Regions from separate parts of the Homo sapiens genome. Here all the other regions are linked to region 2. Evidence: promoter capture Hi-C in 16 types of primary human blood cells and fetal thymus (Javierre and others, 2016). All regions are on one chromosome and are shown on one strand. The core of a region is centred on a gene start or on the middle of the fragment in contact, and the rest is flanking DNA. Distances in the headings are between cores, read along the strand shown.

The links. Contacts are between HindIII fragments. The CHiCAGO score rates a contact against its expected background, and 5 or more counts as called.
Region 1: a fragment that was not itself captured here is called in contact with the fragment with the promoter of LMO2 in region 2 in 1 of 17 cell types (erythroblasts); the score reaches 5.9 in erythroblasts.
Region 3: a fragment that was not itself captured here is called in contact with the fragment with the promoter of LMO2 in region 2 in 1 of 17 cell types (erythroblasts); the score reaches 7.5 in erythroblasts.

Annotation. Positions count from the first base shown.
Region 1 is chr11:34,443,732-34,447,341 of GRCh38, forward strand. All of the region lies in intron 1 of CAT (catalase), which reads left to right. Among named protein-coding and RNA genes, the nearest start is that of CAT, 6.6 kb to the left of the region's middle. The HindIII fragment of the contact is 480 bases long and covers 2,009-2,488 here.
Region 2 is chr11:33,890,161-33,893,753 of GRCh38, forward strand. LMO2 (LIM domain only 2) reads right to left here and starts at 1,916. Exons shown (of 6, transcript NM_005574.4): 1 at 1,635-1,916. RefSeq lists an enhancer at 1,372-1,481. The HindIII fragment of the contact is 4,099 bases long and covers 1,497-3,593 here.
Region 3 is chr11:34,423,828-34,427,863 of GRCh38, forward strand. No RefSeq gene overlaps it. Among named protein-coding and RNA genes, the nearest start is that of CAT, 13 kb to the right of the region's middle. The HindIII fragment of the contact is 3,320 bases long and covers 900-4,036 here.

The DNA.
Region 1 (3,610 bases), core at 999-3,498, 550 kb after region 2:
GTCTTAGACTATCCATTTCTGTCAGTGAGTTGCCTATGCATTATAGCCTGTGAGGGTCTATATTTTTTTAGGGTAATCCTGGTAATAACTGCATTGATGTTACACTGCTAACATTTGGGATGGAGAAGGGGTGACTGAGTGACTTAACCCTTGGTCCACATGTGCTTTCATTTCTCCTGAAATATACCTAGGTATGGAATCGCTAAGTCATTATGTGCAGTGGGAGAGACTATGGGAGATGGGACAGAAATTTTTAAGGTTTCATTTCTTTTTTTTAGCTTTTGCATGGTGGGTAGGTCTATGCAAACCTACCCCCAAAGTCTGAGGAAGCTGAGAGGCCAAAGAAAGAGGCTGACAAATCAAGTTTCTCAGAAAGAAATGTTTAGTAGGGACTTAGGACCAGAAACCATGTCTGTGTCTTGCGTGTTGGCGAGACAAGATGGTGGATCCCATACCATTACCCCTCAGACCCAGGGCTTAATACCATAGGGAAGGGCGATTCAGAAGGGAGGTATGGCATGACTGAAGTATGATAATGTCAAGGTTGTTTGACCTCAGGGCAGGATTTATAGTAAATAGGGGCTCTTTCACAAGGAATAATAGATAAACTGGAAATCTTAAAACTGGAGTTAATCAGAAGTCAGCATGGTGGATCAGTATCTAAGACGGAATTGCTTTAGCTTCCACAGCAGTCAATATCTAGACCACCCTTATTATTTTCCCACAGACCAAGAAATTTGAAGGTCAGGACAGTCTTTGGTTTCCTGTACGTGGGTGTATACGTTGTAGGCACTTGAATCTTTGTTGAATAAATGGAGAATGTTAGGCAGTTATTTGCTAGAAAACGCTAGGCACATTCTTTATCACAGAATGAAAAGACGTCATTATGACTCCTCTGGGACTGATGGGCAATTTGCATTAACCAATCTTTTAATTAAAAGTGGAAGAATATGTTTAGGTTCTTGAAACTTCTGTGAGTGAAGGGAACTACTAAGTGGAAAGTGTAATATGTTGATAAAATATTTCACCAGATGAAGCCAACCTTACTCCTCCCAGGAAAACTTCTTCATTTATGTATTAGCTCTGGCCAAAAGAAGCCTATAAAGGCAGCAAAGTCAAAATAGAATTTTACTTTAAGTCCCTACTTCTAATAATTGTGCTAGTTTTTAGCCAAGCTAATTTCTGTGGCAGTTTTCATAACAAGTGTGTCTAAAGGTGTTTGATCAGAATTTATAAATTAAAATATTTCTCTCATTTTTTGGAGGGGCGATGCAGGGAGAGGGATAGACTGTTGCTGCTTCCTCCTGCTTGTTAGAAAGGCTCTTGGCCATATCATATTGGTCCGTGGTTTAGTTTATTTGCATGCTGAATCCACACACATTTGTTTTATGTTTGTTAGTATATTGAGCAGTGTATTAGGGATCAGGTATATAGATGTAAAAGGAGTACACAGTCTAGAGAGGAAAAATAGTGACAGGCTGGGCGCGGTGGCTCACGCCTATAATCCCAGCACTTTGGGAGGCCAAGATGGGCGGATTTCTTGAGGTCAGGAGTTTGAGATCATCAGCCTGGCCAACATGATGGAACCCTGTCTTTACTAAAAATACAAAAATTAGCTGGGTGTGGTGGTGGTCGCCTGTAATCCCAACTACTTGGGAGGCTGAGACGGGAGAATTGCTTGAACCCGGGAGGAGGTGGAGGTTACAGTGAGCTGAGACCATGCCACTGCACTCCAGCCTGGGCAATAGAGCGAGACTCCATCTCAAAAAAAAAAAAAAAAAAAAAAAAAAAGAAAAACAGTGACATAAACAGGCAATTACAATATTTTGTTATATGGGGCACAAGAAGATGCCCTTGGCCCTGCTTCATGAGTGGTGTGGGGCAGGGTAGAGAGAGCAGTTCAGGAGAGGTACGTATGGATGTCATGGGAGCTAGCAGCCAGGAAGATGTAAACATGTTAACAAGGACCTCTCCAGAGAGAGGTCTTAAAATTATCCAGCCATAGAGAAGCTTTTCTCTCTTTAAAAATATTCTGGCTCTAAAGTTATTCATTGAGTTAAAAACAATAATTGCAAGTTGGAGGAAATCTCTTTGCCTGTCCTTACGTGTTACATGTAACAAGTAAACCTGTGCCACAACACTGACATCTCTGCAAAGTTACTTAAGTTTTCTGAGTTTGTAGTATCGCCCATTAAATGGGATTAATAATATTGATCTCTGGATTATTGACAGGCTTAAGTGAGATAACTTGCGTGGTCCGTTTTCTAGCCCCACCCTCTCATTTCATCTAGTAAATCTTCATTGCATTAATTATTTTCATCTTAAATACACCGCATCCTGCTCCTCACCTTCTAATATTAATACTCTATCTTTCAGTTTAGATCAGTTCCTCTTATCCAATGTTGCGCTAAACATCCCCTGAAGTTGGGGGATCTTTTCCTTTCTAGTTTTTGCTCCCTGGCTTCCCTTTTCTGTTGCTGACTGTTGAAGCTTTCCTGCCCCACTGGCTTTGAAGGTAAATTGTATATACATGAGCTTGTGGGGAAAGCTGTTATATAAATGAGGACAATTGATCTAACTGTTAGAGTGGGGAAATGGAAGAGATTCTGAAGCCTCCATTTGTAACTTAAAAACTCAGGTTTCATTTCTTAACAGGATTGATGTTAAGGAGGGGATTCCTTCATTGGGCAGGAGGGAGGACTGCCATAATTCCAGCATTCCCACTCTTAATAGTCAGTGTCATCAGGAAAGACCACCTCAAGCTTTAGTACTTTATTCATTTATCCAACTCTGCACCTGCTGCCTTTGGGTGTGGTATTTATTCTTGACCATATCACCCTGACCCGGTAACCAGAAGGGAACATGTGATGTGCTCTCATCTCTGCCTTAGGGGCAGCTCCCTCCCCACGTTAAGAATGCTGGCATGTAAATAACACTCTCATCTGTTTAGCGTTCCTTTTACTGAGCTTCTTGGTATCTTTTCTCATACTTGTACCTTTTATGGGATGTCCCCCCCTTTTTTTTTTTGAGACGGAGTTTCGCTGCTGTTGCCCAGGCTGGAGTGCAATGGCACGATCTCAGCTCACCGCAACCTCCGCCTGCTGGGTTCAAGCGATTCTCCTGCCTCAGCCTCCCGAGTAGCTGGGACTACAGTCACCCCTCCACTGCACCTGGTACTAATTTTGTATTTTTAGTAGAGACAGGGTTTCTCCATGTTGGTCAGGCTGGTCTCGAACTCCTGATCTCAGGTGATCCACCTGCTGCAGCCTCCCGAAGTGTTGGGATTACAGGTGTGAGCCACCGCGCCCAGCCTGGATGTCCCTTTATTTTTTAAAGGCTTCCTTAAATACCTTGTTTGTAAGTTGAAAAGAGCATTTAAAGAGTGAACAGATTTGGTTTGCTCTGGCTCTCTAATTATTTTAACTTTGTTATCACCCAATAGTTCTAGGTTAGTGGTTTTCAATCCTAGCTTGAACAGGAGTCATTTAAAAATAGCCCAGGCCTCACCCAGGGCACTTCTATCAGACATCTCTAGGGGGGATGGCCCAGGCATCAGGAGGCTTTAAAAAGCTCCTCAGGTGATTTTAGTGCATTGCCAAGGTTGAAAACC
Region 2 (3,593 bases), core at 666-3,165:
AGAAATTAATTAATAGGTACAATGTGGTGATATCAATCTGGTGATAGATATCAATAGATATCAATCTGGTGATAGATACCAATAGATATCAATCTGGTGATAGATACCTTAGAAGCCCTGACTTCAAGACTATGCAATTTACGCTTGTCACAAAATTGTACTTGTTCCCCATAAATTTATGTAAGTTTTTTTGTTTTTGTTTTTGTTTTTATGAGATGGAGTTTCTCGTCACCCAGGCTGGAGTGCAATAGTGCCATCTTGGCTCACTGCAACCTCCGCCTCCCGGGTTCAAGCAATTCTCCTCTCTCAGCCTCCCGAGTAGCTGGGATTACAGGGATGAGCCACCACGCGTGGCTAATTTTCATATTTTTAGTAGAGACAGGGTTTCACCATGTTGCCCAAGCTGGTCTTGAACTGCTGACCTCAGGCGATCTGCCTGCCTTGGCCTCCCAAAGTGCTAAGATTACAGGCGTTAGCCAATGTGCCCGGCCTGTAAGTTTTTTAAAAACCTAGAGGTGAGTAATTATAATAAGTGATATTATTATTATTATTACTCTTAACAACAATGACAATGATGACTGATGAGGGCTAAGTACCAGCTACTATCCAAGCACTTCCATGATTTATTTCTATTATTTCTCACAATGACCCTATGGGTACCCCTATATTACAAATGAGAAAACTGAGGCTGCCATCTTTCTAAGGTCTAAAGTGATTTTCTGGGAGCACAAACAAGAGCTTAATTAATTTTAACAGATAAAGACAGAAAAGGCTTCACAGAAGATTCACCTTTTCAGGGCAACCTAAAGAAGTATGGGTTGGTTTTCTTTAAGCTGAAACATTACGGCAAGAACCTGGAGTAATATCTGCTTCAAAGGGGAGTTATGCAAAGTCAACAAGAGAAGACGTGTAAAACCCAAGCACAGTACCTGGCACAAAGTAGATGCTCCCAAATCTTTGTTCCCCTTCATTGATCCTCTGTGATGGAAGGAACTTGTAGCCACTTTCCTCATCCGCCTTGGTTTTTCAAAAACACCCTTTGAAGTTATAACCTCCTTGGGAGCCAAGGCTTCTCTGAAGCACCCCATTACAATCTTTGCCCTCAACTCAGAACTGGAATGTGTTTGAAAATGCTAACAAGGGCAGCAGCCCCACCTCTTCGTCATTGCCTAAGGTTGTTAGGCAAACACACACACACACACACACACACACACACACACACACACACATGCACACACACTCACACAGTTGCTGGGGAGATCATGGTAAACACAAGCCTCTCTTTTGGATCAGAATAATTGAGTGGTCTCCCTTTGTGGCCAGTGTACAGGAACAAATTAGATGGGTAAATTAGCAGTTCCCGAAGACATTAGCAACCAGCGGCTCACACAGCAAGCGCCTGACTCACCGTGGGGCCTCTCCAAGTCACAGCCTATGAATAGATGCTCTTCCTCCCTCCGAAAGAGAAGCCAGAGTGCCCGGAACACCACAGGGGAAGCTTGAAGACTTGTACCCCTTTGGAGTCTTTTTATTTTAAAAGACCAATTTAATCACCACTTCTTCTGGCTCCTTGAAGATGAAAAAAGTTCCCTTGCAATCGTCCATTCATCAGAGAATTAATGAAGCCTACTCACCAGCAGATGATGTAATCCTGGTGGCTTCCCCCATCAGATCTAGGCTGCCTGCCCCACGGATACCTTCTGGGCTAATTGCCTGCTTTGCACCTGTTCCTTCTCGGGAGGCCCTGGCACCCTAGCACCTGGTGCCTGTGCCATCTCCCCTCTCTGCCAGGACACCCAGAGGCCCTTGTGAATAGCAAAGCCCACTTAACGGCTGAGGGCAGGTGGGGGTATTTCCTTCTCAATTCTGCTCAAGGCCCGTTGCTGTTCTTTGAGGATGTTGCAAATCCAGGGTTTGGAGGGCTGGGCCTCTTGGTGGCCTGGTTGTCTATCTGATAGGGCGGAGCCTTCACCCTTGCAGCGAGCTCTCTCACACCAGATGTGCTCTGCGTGGAATCCTAGGCCATCAGGGGATTCCTTAGCAAGCCCTGCAGGACCCAAATCCTAACTCAGACCCTCATCCTCCTACTCAGAATGTGGAGACTTGTGATCCTCAGTTTGGACGAATTCCAAGAGACCTTCCAATTCCCAGAGGCCATCTTTGGTTCTGTTCACACATAGCTCCCTCTCCCTCCTAGGCCTTCTCCCTTTGAATTTCTCCCCTACACCATCAGCCTGTATTTACTTCTCCTTCTTGCTTAATGCATGACTATATTATCCCAGTTAAGGGGGTCTGCAGGTTTTATCAGAAAGTTCAGAGGCTCACATGACCTGGATTGGAACTTGGCTCAGCCACTGACTAGCCAGACAAACTCAAATAACGTACACAGCTTCTCAGCACCTCACCCCCTCATTCATAAAAAACAGGGACAATGGTACCCACTTTGCAGGGTTGTTGAGTGGATTAAATTAAACAACACAAGGAAAGAGCTTTCCTAAGTTCCAATGCTATGTAACACACACAGTATTGTCTTACCCAGCAATAATTTCGGTGCACGGATCTGATCATCTCTTAATTAAATATTGAATTCTCCTAACACGGTTCTTTTTTTGAACCCCTCAGGGTCTGAACAGTTATAAGTGCACAGAAGTTGGGTCTTTATGAGCTGAATAAAAGGAGACTCCGGCTGTCTTCTCTTTTGTCCTTACCATAAAGCTCTTGTCAGCTGCTCTCCTGGCCCTGCCTCTGACCCTGGGCTTTGGGGCCACTATAGGCTCTCCTTTCCTTGTCCCCCTCTGAGTCCTGAAGTCCTGGTTTGCAATCTGCTGTTGCAGTTCTCTGGAATGGCTGCTTCCCCATGCGCCCCTGTCTGTCAGCTACCTCCCCCGCATGCATGTCTGTCTGCTGGGCAAGGCCCAATTCCGAGGTGACAGCTCACCGGGCCTCACCCACAAGTCTCTTCCAAGCATTAGCAGCCCACCCCAGTCCAAAGATATCTTTTATAGCTGATCTCTGGTGGCACCTCCTACCTTCCAATTAGGAGCCTGTCAACACCCAGGCCATCACTCTTCCTGCAGTGTCTGACAACACACACGCCTGCCGCGGCTGCGCCGGGAGAGTCAAGCAAAATTGTTTCCATGGTGGTGGTGGTGGCCTGAGCACAAGAGTTGAAATCTAGGTGAATCTGAATCTAGTTCTGCCTTCTCACTTTGCAAGGAGGTGTCTTATTTCTCTTTGAATTGGCAGCACCAAGCATCATGCCTGGCACACAGTAGGTACTCATAAATAAACACGTGTAAATCAAAAAGGCCGAAGATACATTGCTAGCTTGCAGACTCCCTTTCTCAATGTCTAATGATATCCAGTTCATTTCTTTCTCTTACATGTGCAAATCAGAAAGTTAGCTCATAACTCATCTGTTGTGACTTTTTCTTTCCTTTACTTTTGTGGTTGAAAATAAATTTACCCCAGAAAAGAGAGAGAGAAGGTGCCTGATTCCTTTGTCCTCCCTCTTCGATCCTCTCTAAATCCCTGGGTCATGGTAAGACTCTCTGAAATTCAGGGCCATTTTCAGACACTGGAGCCAATGAGGG
Region 3 (4,036 bases), core at 1,310-3,809, 530 kb after region 2:
TGTGGAGGTGATGGCAACTAAACGAGAGGAGGCAACAGTTGCCATGGTGACGATGGTGTGGTATTAGGAGAGATGCCAGGATGTGGTGGTGCCCCTGGCAGTAGAAACCTGGACTCCAAGTGAAGAGTCGAACCAACAGCTCTTGCAAGAATGGCTTTTCAGGCCAGACATGCCTGTAATCCTAGCACTTTGGGAGGCCAAGGTGGGTGGATCACCTGAAGTCAGGAGTTTGAGACCAGCCTGGCTAACATGGTGAAGCCCTGTCTCCACTAAAAATACAAAAATTAGCTGGGCATGGGGGTGGGTGCCTGTAATCCCAGCTACATGGGACGCTGAGGCATGAGAATCACTTGAATCCGGAGGTGGAGGTTGCAGTGAGCCAAGATGGTGTCACTGAACTTCAGCTTGGGTGACAGAGTAAGACACCATCTCAAAAAAAAAAAAAAAAAAAAAAAAGAATGGATTTTCAGTTTTCCCACTGCTGTTGTAACCAGGAAATCCAAAGCATTGGGATGGAGGTAGGGGCCAGTAGTGGTGGCTGGGACTCCAGGAATTACATCCAAAGAGGCCACATGTCTCTTAATGATCCCTGTGTACTCACATCCCTTCCATTGTCCTTGCCTCACACCTGGGATGGGGAAGCATTAGCTGGCACTTTCCAAACCCTACCCTTCTTTATACAGCTTTTAGGGGCTACAGTCACCTTTAGCTTTTTACACACATCATCCTTTATCTTTCTTGTTCACGTTCCTCTTTTTTAAAAAAGATATTTGATTAAGATCTTTAAGACCTGAAACCATAAAAATTCTAGAAGAAAACCTTGAAAAAACTCCTCTGGACATTGGTTAACATAAAAAATTTATGACTGACCCCAAAAGCAAATGCAACAAAAACGAAAAAGCTTCTGTACAGCAATAATAATAATAATAATCAGAGTAAACATACAATCCACAGAATGGGAGAGAATAGTTGCAAACCATGCATCCAACAAAGGATTTATATCCAGAATCGACAAGGAATTCAAACAAATCAGCAAGAAAAAAGCAAATAATCCCATCAAAAAGTGGGCAAAGAACATGAATAGACATTTCTCAAAAGAAGATATACAAATGGTCAACAAACATATTTTTAAAAAGTGCAACATTACTAATCATCGGGGAATGCAAATTAAAACCACAATGAGATATCACCTACCCCAGCCAAAATGGCTATTATTAAAAAGTCAAAAAACAACAGATGTTGGTAAGGATGTGGTGAAAAAGGAATTCTTATATGCTACTGGTGGGAATGTAAATTAATACAACCTCTACAGAAAAGAGTATGGAAGTTTCTTGAAAAACTAAAAGTAGATCTACTATTCAATCTGGCAATCCCACAACTGGCTATTTACTCAAAGGAAAAAAAAAGTCATTAAATCAAAAAGATACATGCATGTATATGTTTACTGCAGCACAATTCACAATTGCAAAGATACGGAATCAACCTAAATGCTCGTCAACTGATGAATGGATAAAGAAAATATGGTCTACATACACCATGGAATGCTACTCAGTCATAAAAAAGAACAAAAGAAGGTCTTCTGCAGGAAATTGGATGAAACTGGAGGCCATTATTCTAAGTGAAGTAACTCAAGAGTGGAAAACCAAATACCACATGTTTTCTCACTTGTAAGTGGGAGCTAAGCTATGTGTATGCAAGGACATACAGAGTGGTATAACGAACATTTGAGACTCAGAAGGGGGAGGGTGGAAGTGAAATGAGGGATGGCAAACTGCTTATTGGGTACAAAGAACACTACTTGGGTGATGGGTGCACTGAAAATTCAGACTTCACCACTATACAATTTATCCATGAAACCAAAAACCACTTGTACCCCTAAAGCTATTGAAAATATATATAAAATATTGAAAAAAAAATATATATAAAGGTCCTCAGTGCTTAAAAAAAATCAAGTGTTTTTTTAAAACTTGCCAGACAATGGAATATATTTTATAGAAAAAAGTCGATTGAGTAGTTTCACTGAGGGGGTACAAATCAGCGGTTGTTAACGGCCACAAATTAAGGATTGAAAACTAGCACTGTGGATAGAGAGGAAAGAGTCCACAGGCCTGTATGTTGGTTAAAACAAGTCCTGTGGTTCATTGGTCAATAAACAGTTTTCAGTTAGATTCTTTGAGGGTCTGGCATACCTGAATCACTCAAAATTTATGGTCCTAATCAGCCACAGCAAGTTAGAGCCAGTTATGATGAAACACAATGTTCAGTTTTACTGTTTCCTGAGTAAGTATTGCTCTAAAAATACTTCCTTTTATGCTTTACAATCAGAGCTGAATTTGCCAGTTGAGCATGAAGGTTTCTTGTAGCCAGGCCTCCTTCCCTCCACCTCTGGATAAATGTGCTTCTACTGAAGCTGCTATTTTTTGTTTATTTGTTGTTTTTGAGACAGGGTCTCACTCTGTCACCCAGGCTGGAGTGTAGTGGCACAATCACAGCTCACGGCAGCCTCAACCTCCTAGGCTCAAGCAATCCTCCCACCTTAGCCTCTGGAGTAACTGGGACTACAGGCGTGTGCAATGATGCTCAGCTAATTTTTAATTTTTTTTTTTAGAGACAGGGTCTCACTATGTTGCCCAGGCTGGTCTCAAACTCCTGGGCTCAAGCGATCCTCTAGCTTCTGCCTCCCAAAGTGTTGGGATTACAGGAGTGAGCCACTGTGCCTGGCCTGAAGCTATTTTAATCCATGCCTTATCCACTATTCTTTGGATTTTGCAAATTCCCTCCTTTTATTCTGGACAAACAGTACTTTCCTCCGAATTTCAGAACTGAGATCTAGTCTTGATCAATATGAGTTTTCTCTAATATCTTTGTTTCTTCTTTTTTTAAATTGACGAAGGTAGACTCTCTAATCTCAATGTTTATCTCTTTAGTTTCCTTCTAGGCCTTCCTTCACAGCCAGGTCCCCACAGTGAAATCTGTCCTTAGCCCGACTGTGCCATCTGGGGCTCTCTCAGGGAGACACTGGTTTTGCACTCCAGGTCATTGTTTCTTTTAGGTGCATAATAGCATAACATGATAGCACATCTGCATTTAATTATGATTCCGTCTTCCTGGCTCCACGTTCACAAATTTCTAAGCCTTTGGAGAGAAGGAATATTTGCTACAAACATTGGCTGCAGTGATGATGTTGTCATCTGCTTTTGATTTCCTAGATGTAGCCATAAACAGATGCAAAGTTTGGCTAAATGGTTGGGAGTGGAGTGTTTGGACCATCTGACAGGGTGTAGATAGGACTCTCCACATGTCTGCAGTCATAATTTTGTCCATTTTTTTTAAGTTTTTTGTCTTTAAAAATATGCCTCATCACTTCTTTTTCTTCCTACACTGAACTGGCACAGAATAAATAGAACCTTGACTTTGGTTTCACAATGTATGTGGTGGATTTCATAGACTTTTGTGTTTCATAACACAAAAATGTTTGACCTTTGCAAATGATTTCTTTTCATCTTTAGGTCACAGAGCTTTCGTGTTGATATATTTGAGAGGGGCAGAGAGTAATAACACAGGGTAATATGATGTAAGGAGGACAAATGCCTTTTTCTGTTACAAACCACACACCTCCTCTGCCTCCAGCCAGTGCAATGCTTTTGACCATAAACTTCGTTGAATCTGTCCATGTAGCCTAGAGTCAGCCACTGCTGAATCATTCTCCCAACTACAATGCTCCCTGGAGCGTTCATTACAGCACTCAAGAGTTTTGATGACTGGCACTTTTGGCATCTTTTTTTTTTTTTTTTTTTTTTTTTTTTTTTTGTCGTGGGCTTCAGCTGCCCCAGCTCCTTTCCAACACCCTACTTTCCCTTGCTCAAGGGTTACTTTAGGGTTGATGATTACTGAGGACACTCAACAGAAGCTCAGATGTTTGAGGAATGCAAGTTGTTATAAGATAAGGTGCTTTCTTGCACTTAGTTAACTTCAGACATCAAGACTTGTGTTGCTAGGGTTCTTGCTAACAGAACAATACACAGAATAATCTGTA